Regions from separate parts of the Homo sapiens genome. Here all the other regions are linked to region 2. Evidence: promoter capture Hi-C in 16 types of primary human blood cells and fetal thymus (Javierre and others, 2016). All regions are on one chromosome and are shown on one strand. Each heading gives the region's core, a stretch centred on a gene start or on the middle of the fragment in contact. The rest is flanking DNA. Distances are from core to core; before and after follow the strand shown.

The links. Contacts are between HindIII fragments. The CHiCAGO score rates a contact against its expected background, and 5 or more counts as called.
Region 1: a fragment that was not itself captured here is called in contact with the fragment with the promoter of SEL1L3 in region 2 in 5 of 17 cell types (naive B cells, naive CD4 T cells, total B cells and 2 more); the score reaches 7.9 in naive B cells.
Region 3: a fragment that was not itself captured here is called in contact with the fragment with the promoter of SEL1L3 in region 2 in 1 of 17 cell types (total CD4 T cells); the score reaches 5.2 in total CD4 T cells.

Annotation. Positions count from the first base shown.
Region 1 is chr4:26,396,839-26,401,699 of GRCh38, reverse strand. All of the region lies in intron 2 of RBPJ (recombination signal binding protein for immunoglobulin kappa J region), which reads right to left. Among named protein-coding and RNA genes, the nearest start is that of RBPJ, 78 kb to the right of the region's middle. The HindIII fragment of the contact is 3,568 bases long and covers 1,116-4,683 here.
Region 2 is chr4:25,859,467-25,864,330 of GRCh38, reverse strand. SEL1L3 (SEL1L family member 3) reads left to right here and starts at 1,343. Exons shown (of 24, transcript NM_015187.5): 1 at 1,343-1,656. The coding sequence starts at 1,495. It overlaps LOC102723733 (a long non-coding RNA gene), which reads right to left and starts at 3,204. Exons shown (of 2, transcript XR_427503.5): 1 at 2,178-3,204. RefSeq lists silencers at 1,110-1,269, 1,320-1,779, 2,050-2,344. The HindIII fragment of the contact is 3,672 bases long and covers 171-3,842 here.
Region 3 is chr4:26,417,446-26,422,235 of GRCh38, reverse strand. It overlaps RBPJ (recombination signal binding protein for immunoglobulin kappa J region), which reads right to left. Exons shown (of 11, transcript NM_015874.6): 5 at 1,511-1,685. Among named protein-coding and RNA genes, the nearest start is that of CCKAR, 71 kb to the left of the region's middle. The HindIII fragment of the contact is 649 bases long and covers 2,893-3,541 here.

The DNA.
Region 1 (4,861 bases), core at 1,650-4,149, 540 kb before region 2:
ACTGCATTGTGTTTGTCAGGTTTCATGTTTATTTTTCTTGTCTTCCCAAATAGACTACAAAGTCTTTAAAGGCAAGATCCATATTTTACATTTCTATCCCTTTCATGACAACTCGGGTAAAACAGGACACAAACTTGGTATTTGATAATATCCGAGGCAGTCACAAATGCTTTCTACAAAGATTTTAATTATAATCATTAAACGAGCTAAAATTAAGCAATCACTCTTCCAGTACTCTTCTAAGCATGTATTAACATAACCAATGACCTTGAGGGTAACACTATTATGTACATTTTAGAAACTGGGTAGAGGTTAAGTAACTTTCCCAAGATGATACTGAAGAGTGAGGATTCAAATCTGCGTAGCCTAGCTTGTGAGGACAAAATCATACCGTTAGTGATTAGGGGTATAGCTTTGGTGTGAAATAGATCCGGGTCTGTTACTAAGGGTCTGTCAATCACTAAGCCTGAGTTTTCTCACCTGTAAGATAAAGGCAGTAATGCCTCATATTGGTGGTGGGGGCAGGGGGACACTTTAAAGTAAGTTAGTCCCACAAACTGACAGAAAGCAAGTGTCAGTAGCCTCGAGCTATTACTATTATTTCCTTAGAAAGAAGACTTCAACCTTCAACAGTACACAAAATGCAGAGGGAGGGAAAATGGGACTTCCACTGAGGCTTTGAGAGCAAACTTGAAAATGACCTAGGAATGAATGATCAGGCATGTTACCCAATGTGCAAAGCACAAATTTTGCAAGTACACCAGGTAAAGTGCACAACTATCCATCTTCCCACTGAAGATTTATTGGAAGCTTACTATATTCTAGGCACTGGGCATTCTACTGGCTTCTACTACTGGATGTAACTGTTCACAGTTCAAAGACCTCACAGTGCTTATGATGAATGCAGGGTGACAGCTCTGGTTTTCCTCGTCTTTTCCTTCATGTTTAGAATACAAATTCCTGAAAAAGTAACTAGAGCCTCAAGGTAATCATGAACAATAGTTGTCCTGTAAAAGTAATTTGCCAAATAGCTTCTTTCAACAGTAAAAATAAATTTCACTTTATTAAACAGAATATTAAAACATTAAAAATTATGTTCTCTGGCAATTAAAGCTTGATCATTGACTTTCTGCATCTTAAGGAGCCATAAAACAAGACGATATACTCTAAAGAAACACAATAAATAGTAAAAAGCCTGTCAAATAATAGCCCATATGCTTTTCATCCAAATAGAGGAAGGCTGTGTCAATAAATAGGATTTCTATCTCAGCACTGCTGACATCCTGGGCAAAATCATTTTCTGCTGTGGAGAGATTGCGCTGTGCATTGTAGGACTATGTAGCAGCATCACTATCTTTTACCCTGCAGGTGCCAGTAGCACCCTTCCTTGAATTATGACAACTAAAAATGTCTCCAGATGGTGCCAAATGTCAAGAAAGAGGATGGAGTGAGATGGTCACATGGAATGAAAACTACTGGGATAAACCCAAAAAATTTCAGTGGTAAGATATCACAATCATCCAGGTTTTTTTTTAATTAAAAAATACCAAAAATTTTATTATTGGAAAAACATATTACAGGTGCTGAAGAATCCTTGACCGTAGAATTACTGTTTTATTATTGAACTGTTTTTTTGAATACTTTAAAACATAAGGTAAATTTTGAAGTCTATTGTTTACTAATTTCATTTAATGATTTCTTACATAAAATTTTCATTCTAAATGAAAACCAATTGGATTACGCCTGTAATCACAGCACTTTGGGAGGCTGAGGTGGGCAAATCAATTGAGGTCAGGAGTTTGAGGCCAGCCTGGCCAACATAGTGAAACCCCATCTCTACAAAAAATACAAAAACTAGCCAGGCATGGTGGCACGCGCCTATAGTCTCAGCTACTCAGGAGGCAGGGAATTGCTTGAACCCAGGAGGCGGAGGTTGCAGTGAGCCAAGATCGCACCATTGCACTCCAGCCTGAGCGACAGACTCCATCTCAAACAAAAAAAACAAAACAAAAAAAGGAGATTTTGTTATCAAAAATAATTTTACTAACATGAAATTATGGAATTATGGCAAATGCCATTCTGGTTCAACATGCTTAATCTGTGATTACCTCTGTCAATTTTTTGACTGTGGTTTGCCTTATAAAATTCAAACTTTTTTTATACAGAAAAAAAAAAAGGAAAGAAAAATACCACAAAGAGAATACTACAGTGAAACATCCATGAATGGTAAGATAAGCTCATGTGCTGTTTCTAATGGATCTACTTTTACTAGTTATGCCAATGGAGGCAATGGGAGTCTGCAAAAAAAGGGAAGAACCTGGTCCCCGCGTAAAGGTAAAAGAGAACTTCAGTTAAGGGAACATAATCAATGTTATTAAATATTACAGAATAGTCAAGAAAAATAAAGATTAGAAACTCTTCATAAATTTGACAATTAGTTCATAAATGGAACGGCTTAATTAGAATCTTCTCAGTGAGCTGGTGGTGAGGCAACACCACTGAAGCAAGCTACAAAATGAAAGGAAGGGAAGAAAGTGCAATGAACGTAAGTCATGCTGATAAGGAAAAGGGGTGGTGGCGGGAATAACTAAGGTTACGGCAGAAAAGTTTGTCTCTTTACAGGATTTTTAAAATTCTGGATATAAAGGGAAGTTTTTAATTCCTAAGTTTGTTAAAACAAAAAAAGCCAAGAAGAAAAGGTAAAGATGCACTGCAAAAAAACCTAGTATCTAGAAACTGAGTACTTTTAAGTAGCTGAAGTATATAACACACAGAATTCTGAAAGACGGGCTGGACGAGGTGGCTCCCGCCTGTAATCCCAGCACTTTGGGAGGCTGAGGCAGGCAGATCACAAGGTCAGGAGTTCAAGACCAGCCTGGCCAACATAGAGAAACCCCATCTCTACTAAAAATACAAAAATTACCCGGGTGTGGTGGCAGACGCCTGTAGTCTGAGCTACTTGGGAGGCTGAGGCAAAAGAAGCACTTGAACGTGGAAGGCAGAAGTTGCAGTGAGCTGAGATTACGTCACTGCACTCCAGCCTGGGCGACAGAGCGAGACTCTGTTTCCAAAAAGAAAAACAGAATTCTGAAAGATGAGATTGGAAAGACAGGGTGGGGTGAGATTGGCTCAAGCCTTAAATGTCATGCTAGTAAAGTGTACATTTAATCCATAGCTTAGTGTTTCTCAAAGTAAATTCCTGGAGGCAAGATCCTCCTTAAAACGGAGTTCTGAGGGCCAAGACATATGGAAAACACTACAAACCACATCTCCCGCTAGGACATTAATTATAGCGGTGAGTTTGCGGTGTCCTTATGGTGCTAATCGCCATTCTTCTGAAAACAGACTTCCTCACTTTCTCACCACACTCTTACACACCTCTGTGATTGGTCCAAGGGGTAAGTGGAGGGAGTGTGGGAGAGAGGGAAGAGGAGAAAACCACCACAAAGATGGGAGGTCCAGTCATCTTTACCTCCAGGCTCACTCTCTGCGCTTCTCAAATTGGACTACTGTCACTTTAAAATCCAAATAATAAAAGTCCAAAATGAACTCTGTCTTCTAATGAAGAAACTTATTTTTGTTGTATCAAGAATTTTCAAAGTAATCACACACACACACACACACACACAATATCACTCGTGAACATTTTAGAGAACTGAAGAGCATATTGAGAAACACAATAGGCCACAGTCATCAAATCACAAAGCAGCCTGTTTTTGTGCCCCCTAGGAGCTAAGCATGCCTTTTACATTTTCAAAGAGTTACAATGCCGGGCAAGGTGGCTCACGCCTGTAATCCCAGCACTTTGGGAGGCCGACGCAGGCGGATCACAAGGTCAGGAGATTGAGACCATCCTGGCTAACACAGTGAAACCCTGTCTCTACTAAAAATACAAAAAATTAGCTGGGCATGGTAGCACACGCCTGTAATCCCAGCTACCTGGGAGGCTGAGGCAGGAGAATCGCTTGAACCTGGGAGGTGGAGGTTGCAGTGAGGCAAGATCGCGCCACTGCACTCCAGCCTGGGCAACAGAGTGAGACTCTGTCTCAAAAAACAACAACAACAAAAAAAGAGTTACAAAACAGAGACTAATAATATGCAACAGAGATAGTATGTGGCCCTCAAAGCCTAAAATATATACTACTTGACGCTACAGAAAATGCTTGTTGATCCCTGCAGACAATTTTTAAAAGTTTTTAAGGAAAAGTTGCAAAACAGAATTCTAATTAAATCAATTAAGTATATTGCACGGCTGACATTCAATCAAGAATTTTTTTATAAAATTCTTCCTCAAAACTTGACTTATGAACAACTGAGGGTTCAGAAAGCTCAGCTCAACTCTTCTCACATCTACTTGGGGATGCTGCCAAAAGGCATCCTGATTTATACGCACCCCCACAAAACCTTGAAGAACTGCCCTATTTTTGTCAGACTCTGGCAGTCTCGCCTTTTACACTGCCTCAGACACTTCTCAAAGTGAGCTCCACAATACTTACGGTTTACAAAGAAGCGTGTCTCAATCCAAGATGCTTCAGTGAAATCAGATAAAATAAAGTGAAACTAATTCATGGCAGAACTACTCAGAACCTTAAGCAAAATCTTCAAGAGAGGGATATTTGTAGGTTTCATTTTCCAAGCTATTAGACCAGACTAAGATCTCCTTGTTTTTCTTCCAAGGAAGCTTCCTGAGAACTACTGTTTGCCTGAGGACCAGTTTTGAAAATGACAATCTAGGGATACTATCAATAGTCAACAAGGTCCTGGTGCCCTTGTAACACAATAAAACATTGAGGCTGCTGTACTAAGTGTCTACATCTACCAGTGACCAAAGCTAAACAACAGTACAGGTCCTGTTCCTAAG
Region 2 (4,864 bases), core at 94-2,593:
TCCACGCCCGTCAAACCATCCCGGGCACCCCGTCTCACCACCAGCCTCTCCCCGACGTCTGTTGTGACTTGACCTATGCTCGTGGCACAGGGAAAGGGCTGTGGCCTCTCAGGCTCCCAGGCTATTATTAGTTCCAATCCGCACAAATCTACCAGTGCTAAAGGGAAGCTTCTGCGAACTTTGGAAGGTGGATTAACTGTTTCAGAGCAGCAGCTGCGGGCCCAGATAGTTGTCGGAGCCGCTAGACACAGCCAAGCGCTTCCCTGAAAGCCAAGGCCGGCGGCGAGCTGGTGGTCCCGCCGGCCGGAGGCCCCTCCCCGCCAGGCCGCAGAACCCGGGTCGGAGAGCAGCCAGTCTCAACCTGCGTCCCCAAGGCCGAGGATGTGTCCTGGTTTTTTAAAAAGCTGTTTGCGCACTTCCAGGGCCTCACCCCTTTCATTTGGGGCTCCAGTATTACTGTATTGACCTAATTAATTCATTTTTTTCTCAGTCCAAAGTGGAAGCCGGAGCACAGGGATGCAAATCAAATACAAACCCGTCCTGGGTGCCAATACTCTGGACAATTAAAACAAAGAGCGCAGTGGTGGCGGTGGCGGCGGCACCACACAAAACCCTCGGGAAACATCCAGAACGTGCCGCGAACCAGCCGGCAGGGTGGGGCGCAGCCCGGCTGCAAACATGCCAGCAAGGAGGCAGTCCCAACCCCGCAGGTGGACAGGTGGAGGTTGGCAGGGGTCAAAATCCATCCTGAAGGCCTGGGAGCCGGGCAGCTGCGCGGCACAACTCCAGGGGGCACACTCGCCCTGCGCCCTGCGGGAATGGCGCCCCGGCCAAAAAAGCAACCAGACAAAAACCCATTGCACGGGCGGGAACTGGTCTGTGCGACCCGCAAAAGGGGTGGGTGGGAGAGGAAGAATGCGGAAGCGAGGAAGAGGATGGGAAGGGAGAAAGAGGAAAGGGAGGAAAAGGAGAAAGTGAAAAAGAGAGGGGGTTTGGGAGCGCGAGGGGAGAAGGAAGAGGGAGCCGGAGGGAGAGGAGGGGGATCGCAGAGAGCAGGAGCGCGGAAGGGGGGCGGGGGAGGAGCAGAGAGAAAGGGAAAGGGGGGTGCGCCGGGGCCCAGCGACCCGGGCGGGGGGTGGCGGCGGCCAAGGGGCGGGACCCGGGTCGGTGCCCACCTGCGTGGGCGCCCGCTGCTCCGAGGGGTGGAAGCCCGGGGGCCAGAGGGAGCGGCCGGGAGGAGGGCTGGGCAGGGAGGCAGAGGGGAGGGAGGGGACGGGGACGGGGAGGCGGGGAGGAGCCGGCGCTCGGCTGGGGCTGCGGGGGCGGCGACGGCGGGAGCGGCAGTGGCGGCGGCGGCGGGTCCGGAGGTGGCGGCAGGTGGCCCCGCGCGCGGCGGCCGGCCCGGCCGGGGGCGGGCGGGAAGGTGGCGCCTCGGGCGGGGGCCGGTCCCTGCACCAGGTGACCTGTTCCGGCCCGGATCCGGGCGGCCTCGCCATGCAGCGGCGCGGCGCGGGGCTCGGGTGGCCGCGGCAGCAGCAGCAGCAACCCCCGCCGCTCGCGGTCGGCCCCCGGGCCGCAGCCATGGTCCCGAGTGGCGGCGTCCCCCAGGGCCTCGGCGGCCGCTCTGCCTGCGCGCTGCTCCTGCTCTGCTACCTGGTGAGCGCCGGACCCTGCCCGGGTCTTCCCCTCCGCGCGGGGCCCCGGGGACGCGGGTGGGGGCGGCCGGGGACACCCGCCACGCGGGGCGGGGACGCCGCTGCTAGTTTTCTCTCTTCCTCGTCGCTGCGCCCCGGGCGTTCCCGGCACCTGGGATAGGTACCCCGGGCGTGGAGAGGGGCGCTTGGACCGGACTTGCCAAGCTGCTCTCTCGCTCGTGCTCATTCCTTTCCCTCCTGGACTCTCTCTAGACCCGGGTCGGGTTACCCTCGAGACCCCTTCTTGTCCTCGACTCCACCCGGGAGCCTCGCCGCCCGGAGTTCGCTCCCCGCCCCGCCGCGCGCAGTCTCCAGCACCCCCCAACCCCCCACCCCTCCTGGGCTTCCCTCTCAATCTTCTCGCAGCTCCTTTCCTTCCCGTGCCCAACTTCGCCTCTTACTCTCGGCGCCCGCCACCCGCGTCGACCCTCCTTTTAGTTTCCACCGGGTCCTCCCGGCCCGGACAGTTTTCTGCCAACGCACCTCGCATCTCCAGCGCTCTTCAACTCCTCCTTGGTCACTCCAGCCAAGTTGCGGATGCCGGAAAGAAATCTAGTTCTCTGTAACACGCTTACCGCCAGAGTGGTGACTTTAGCTGCGTCTTGAACATTGTCATTTCAGAGAATATGTTTGGCTCATGCATGTCAGTTTGCAATTTGCACACTTCTTGGCTTCTGTTTTAGTCATCAACTAAAGGGCAGTAACCTATTTTTCAAAACCCATTTATTTTAAATACCAGAGTAGCTGAGACCCCTCAGAACAAAGTGGGGAGAAATTTTCTCAGTTCCTTTGAGGGCTTGCTTGCTTCTGTTTTGAGTTCTCCTAAACAATAGTAAATTTACAGAAGGCGACACCCTTCCTGCCCAGAGTAACTTATGTTCCACAATCCTGCAGAAACCTTGGGTTATCTCGCCATATATTACTGTAAATAAATGAAATGGAAAATGCTGAATCATGAAACTGATGTAATAGGAAATTCACAGAATGCCAAAAAAAAAAAAAAAAAGAGCAGTGTCATTGTCCAGAATTCATTTCACTTATGTGGCATTGTCATTATTTGGAGTCTTTCTTTTTGGAAGCTAAAAACTGCTTAGGAGATACTGGCAGAAATTAGAATTTGATTCTGAAGAAATTTGCCACTCAGCCCGTTTCTTTTAACGTTTTTTACTTCTTGAATGTTTCATTTCTTGAAGCAAGAAGGTGTAAAAATGCAAATTATAATTCTGCCTGTGCATCTACCTGTTGAGCAATCCGTGCTTTTACTCATATTTCAGAATTAGCCAATATCAAATTGTGTGGTTGGGCTTACTTCATATTTTCATAAGAAGTTGTCAGTTAACATGAATGATATTTTTTTGCCCAAGAGATATTATTATTTAATATTTATGCCACAAGGTTACAACACACAGGCTCATAAATAAAACTGCCATAACAAATGACAAGATTTCAGTTTAAACAGATGATCCCTGTACACAGGGCCCTGCTGGCTACCCACAGAAGCAGAAGTGATGTAGTAGAGTGTTGCGTGAAACATTCATATACAAATGGGCCGGGCCGAAAAGTTCCACGTGGACATCTCAAGACCTGGCAAGGAGGGGGACTACTTCTGGACAGTTCAGGAAGTCAGAGTCAGGAGAGCAAAGCCTAAGGGCCTAAGTGGACTCTGGAAACAGAGACAGATAATGATGGAGCAAGTATTCCTGTGAAAGTTCTGTGTACACCAAGGGGGATTAAGAGAACAGAGGGAAAAATGATGCCATGGATAGACTCAAGTGAGATAGTGAAGGAGTGAGGAAGGGCTCCGGAAAGAGTAATTTTAGAAAATACTGTGATGTGGAAAATAACTAGAGCATGGATGAATGTCTTGGCAGATGGGGAAGGAATGGATTTGGGGACCTCATGGTGGGGGGAAATGTCAGTGCTTCCTGCCTTTGTATGCTTCCTTCAGATGGACTTCTGATACGCTTACTGTACAAGACAGACTTTGATAAACAAGAGAGCCATTTTGCAAAGGACACAAAAGGCCGACTTAAAAGGTAGTCTCCACATTTTGTTCTGAAGATCTAGCCGTTTACTAGGGATGTTGCTCTTGGGTCTACACTACCCAAGATACTACTGAAGGCAAGGCTTCTTGATCTTGGAGAAGCTTGGTGTGAGAATTGGGGAAAATGTAAATATCCATATGAAACACTTGAAAAACATAAAACAATAGAGAGAAAACGCAAATGTATAATTGTGTGCATTTTGCTCAATCAAGGAATGCTACCTGGAGGAAGTGGTTGGTCAGGGGGATGGGGCTGGGCAGGTGCAGGGTAGAGATGGAGCAGAATAGCTGGGCAGGATCCCAGGAATATGTAGACTCTAGAGGAGGAAAGGTCTTTCATAATTTGAAAGCCTACATGGTAATAACGATAGCTTACATTGTGCTATACATTGTGCTAAATCGTTTATAGGCATTATCCAGTATTTATCTTAGCAACAGCCCTCTGAGGTAGGAGCTACTATAATCTCCATTTAGATGAGATAACAGAGACTCAGAGAGGTTAAGTTAGTTGCCCCAGGCCATACAGTCTGAGATTGAAACCCAAATCTGTCTCCCTCCAGAGCCCCAGCTCTAAACCACACTAGCTTATTGTCTTCTGGATTTTGCTGCTTGTAACTCATTCTTCATCGATGTACGGGCCATTAGCAGAGCTCTAGCAATTAGCAGCTACTGTGCAATTGGCCAGGATGTGAGGTCATGTCTAAAGTAATCTAAAATATACAAAGCAGGAAGCGCAGGCCACAGAATAGAAGCAGGATGTTAAAGTGGGGAAGAAAGGTAAAGCCAGAAAATATTTGCCATCGTTAATGAAGAGATAAAGGTTTGGGGTTTTTATGTAGTCCAGAGGCAGCTGGTAGAGTTTAGCATTTGAGTTTGGATGAATGTGCATACAAGTGTACAGCAAATGTGCCTTGGAATGCATTCCAAAGCCAAATTGCCTATGATTTGGGGACCAGTTCCTGTTTTGTGTTATCTTCACCTATTTGCCTGTTCACAAGGGCTGGAGGTTGAGAGCAGCTTCTGAATAGATGCCTTTAAGCACCTGCCCTCACAGGGAGCATGCTTCCTGGAGTCAGGGTCCTGAGGAGTGGGTGCCTTCCGTCTCCATAGGCTGGGACGGAGTAAC
Region 3 (4,790 bases), core at 1,968-4,467, 560 kb before region 2:
CTCAACATGACCAAAAAAAAAAAAGGGGATAATCAGATATTATGACTTCCAATCCAATGGAAATAAATGTATATCTTACCAATCAGTTCTGAAAGTCTTTATGTCTAACCACCAGTTCATGGAAAGTAAGAGAGACAGAGAAACATATAATCAGCCAAACCCAGAATATGGAATTCCACAACAGGAAAAATGATCCAGTTTCTTCAACAAATAAATGACATAGAAGGAAAACAAAGGTGAGAGAGGGTGAGAAGAAACTATTACAGACTAAAATGTGTGGACCTTATCTGAATCCATGTTTGAACAAACCACTGTAAAACAAAACAAAGCAAAAAAACTATAAAAAGACATTCTGGGTCAATCTGATAAATCTGTACATGAAATAGGATATTAGATGACACTTAAGAGCTGCTGTCAACTGTTACGTATAATGATGTTTCAAAAAAAAGGGCATGTATTAGTCACTATTGCAGAAATTTTGGTTGAAAGGATAGGATGAGATTTACATTAAAATACTCCAGCAATTAGAAGACGAAGAGGTGTTGGTGGTGATGGAGATAATGAAACAGAATTGATAAAACCTGTTGAGGCTGGGTGGCTAATTTCTCCCTTTTATATAAATTTGAAAGTCTCAGCCAGGCATGGTGGCTCACGCCTGCAATCCCAACACTTTGGGAGGTCGAGGTGGGTGGATCACCTGAGGTCAGGAGTTCAAGACCAGCCTGGCCAAATGGCGAAACCTCATCTCTACTAAAAAATACAAAATCAGCCGGGCGTGATGGTGGGCACCTGTAATCCCAGCTACTCAGGAGGCTGAGGCAGGGAGGATTGGTTGAACCCGGGAGGTGGAGGTTGCAGTGAGCTGAGATCCTGCCACTGCACTCCAGCCTGGGCGACAGAGTAAGAGTCCATCTCAAAAAAAAAAAGAAAAGTCTCCATAATAAAAAGTTAAAAAAAGAAAAATGGGTGTGGAGGTTAAATTTATAATTCAAACATACTTGTTTGGTAGTCTAAAAATAGGCTGATGAGACAGCAGTCTCTGCCAGAGCAACCACATTAAAAATTGTGTTTAGATTCTCAGGAAGGCCTGCCAAAGCCCATTTAGTTGGTAGCGTTTTTCAAAGGGGTACTTGTTGACATTGTGGGTAGATCAATTCTTTGTGGAATGGGAACTACCTTGGACACTGCAGGACATTCAATTCAGCACCACAGGCTCAAGACACCCAAAGCCAACATCACCCCCTCCAGTCACTGTAACAACAGAAGGAGAAAATCTCCCATTTCCCCAGAATGTCCCTGGGAGCATTAAGGAACCAACTCTGGTTAAGAACTGCTTCATTAGACCACATACTGTCGATTTACGATTAAAAAAAGAGAGACAATAAAGAGGGCCACAAAAATATTAGTAAAGAATTAATTGGCTATTGAAAAGGCAATTTTTAATTTAAAAAAGAGTCTGTCTTATTAATTCATGGTGGCAGTTGGGGATAAATAAGAAAAGCATACATACAGTCAGCATTTTTCAATGACTGCTTCTTTTTGGAAGGTTTGGAGATGACTTTTATCCGCTTGCTGAGGAACACACCAATGTCATCACTGTTGCCATAGAACATCTTTACAGACAACATGAAGTGCTTTCGCTTGTCTGAGTCAGATATATACAATGTTTTGGCTGTGCAATAGTTCTGTGAAAGAAAAGTAAAGTTTTAACAGCAGCAAAACCTTGTTTGTTTATGTAGTACCTAAAACTCAGAATGGCCATGGTTTAAGTAATAAGTAAAACAATTCCAAGGGATAGCTGATAAAACCAACTCTAAAAATTATCAACTATAAAAATTACTGAAATTGATTTCGGAAAAGTACAAAGTCTTCCTTATAAAGTCTGTAGAACACAAACATTGTCATCTATTGTATCCTCTTTAAAAGACCATTTAAAAAAACAGCCTTTTCTTGTTTTACATAGCTCTACAACTGTATCATGGAATTATCACTCAACGTTACAGCAGTAACTTTTAAAATAAATTTTACAGTTAAAAAAAATCAATGACTTTCTCCAAAAAAAAAATAATAATAAAGCTATCAGAATTCAAGAAATTATGTAAAAGATTTTAGCAGTAGTTCTTCTCAAAATAGTGCATAAAATATTTTTCTTTATATAGCTGAACACTAGAGTAATCACTTATAAGATTGAGGAAAACAATGATAGACAAACTGGATGATTATAAAATATCTTAAACCAGAAAGAGATTATATAAGCATTACTTTAAAGAACTATTTTTAAAATGGTTAACTTTGCCCAAAAGGACGATTCATATGTATCACCAGAAGAACTGAATTTAAAGGTACTAGAGAAAATGCTCAAGGCATTATGTCAGTTTACCAGAATTTAAATTCTGATAACTGAAAAGATAAAGAGATATAGCACTTTACAAACAGCAAAGACCCTTCAAAATGCTACTGCTTATATTATATATAACAATTCTAAAATCTTTCCTATTCTCTTGATCCCTGTGAATCAGGGAGGGGTCTAAATTATTGTCCTTTTCCAGATAAGATAAATGATGCTGAAACACAGCATAAGTATCTAAAGTATCGAATTATATTTTTTAAAGGATCAACATTCCACTTTAAAATTAAGCTAAACAAGTTTCTTCAACTGCCTCTCCTGTATCTTCCTTTTAAAAAGCAGAGCAAATGCTACTCAGGAAACAGTTAATGACTTCTAGGTTTTTATCTTTAAAATTTTATTCACAGACAGCCTCGGTAGCAGACAAAACTACTGCAATAGTTTATTGTATTTCTCATAGCAAAGCTATATAAGAAAATTTAGATGCCATCTTGAACATTATACATTTAACTAAGTTTTTAAAAATCAAAAGTTTGGTAAAAGCTTTGAGAGGTTTTGCTCTGTAGAAGGCAAAAATAAGATAAAGCCAATCATAGTAATAAATAAAAACAGGCCAGGGTGGTGGCTCATGCCTGTAATCTCAGCACTTTGGGAGGCCAAGGTGGACAGACTGCTTAAGTCCAGAAGTTTGAGACCAGCCTGAGCAACATGGTGAAACCCCATCTCTACGAAAAACACAAAAATTATCCAGGCATGGTGGTGCATGCCTGTAGTCCCAGCTACTCAGGAGGCTGAGGTGGGACGGTCGCTTGAGCCCAGGAGGCAGAGGTTGTAATGGGCCGTGATCCCACCACCGCACTCCAGCCTGGGCGGCACGGTGGCACCCTGTCTCAAAATGAATAAAGATAAAGAAACAAAAAACAACAGTACTTTGCAGTCACATCACTCCTTGCACCCAAGATCTCTAACGCACTCAGAGATGGCATCTGTGAGCTGCTATACCCATAGGTCGGCCATACTCTTAAAAGTGACAGACAGCATTGAAGGTCAAATTAAGCCTAAACAATGAAATTCTTCTGCAACATAAGACGAGGTCTATGAAAATGGGTATCAATGTACTAAAGCAGACAGTCATGGGAAGCAAAAATGAAATTTATATCTAAATGAAGGTAATTACATTCTAATGGGAAAGCTTAAAAATGTTGAGATGGCTTTTGAGTGTTAAAATTAAAAGGTAAGATCCATATCAGAAAGAGAAAATACTGAAATCCAGCATAAATAAGACATATTGGCAAACAAGAACGGAAAAAAAGAACCAAGAAGGTTGGATCATAAGACCTACACAAAAAGAACTGCATTTTGTTCGGAAAAAACAAACACACATATATCTCCTTGGAAAGAAAGGAAATATATCCCTAATTACAATGAGTAGTTTGAATCCACAAAAATCATAATCAAGATAATTTTATGGGAACTATTAGTTTTAAAAAACTATAAGGCCACTGACCACAAACTACTCAAATTCCATTAAGAAAAGAAGGAAAAAGTCACTGACTCATAGAAAATAAGCAAATAAAACTAAAATTACATTTGCCTTGCTATTGCAAAAGGTTAAATTAGCTAACGGAATTCTAGAAGAGAAAATGGCATATAATCATCTCTCTAGAAATACTCTTTGAAAACAAGATCTTTAGGCAATAAAAGACATTTCCCTGAAAGAAAGAAGAAATACCAAATCTAATGCTGCAAAGTGATACTGCAGAAATGTTTAAATTATAGAAACAAAATGTTACCAAGAGTATATGATGTTTAAAAATAAGAAAAACACAAGAGTGTTAACTAAGTCATCCTTGTTGCGTAGCTTACCTAGCTGTGACTATAAAAAATGTAAATTTTTTTAACAAATTAAAAACATTACACAAAATCTAAGATCCAACATATTACCTACATACAGCCAAATGTCATGACCATAAATTTAAAGGGCTAGATATACTAGAATTTTGTTGCAGTGAATATTTAAAATAAGTATAAACACCAAAAATTGCAAAATGAATATCCCATATTTCTCAATAACTAATTGTACCACTCAATGAACAGACTATTTCCTTACACGAATGGAGTTTAAGTGAGGCAGACAAGAGCAAAGTGCCTCTCACTGAAGCTCAGAATCCGCTGCTCAGGACATCTTTGCCTACCTTGGTCAAAACCATGTTCTTATACCTTTATGCTCTAAGCACATGATTATATTGTTTTTTTTTCTGCCTGGGATGCCTTCTACTAACTCTCACCAGTCTTGCTTTACATAAACTTCCCTAATAGAATTTTTCCTTAAAATTAAATATTAACATATAATTTTGGCTTACAGACATTGTACTAACCTATTACTAGGTATTTTAAATACTAGTTAAATGCTCAAGCTCTCAGGTATTCTATTCCTCTTCTG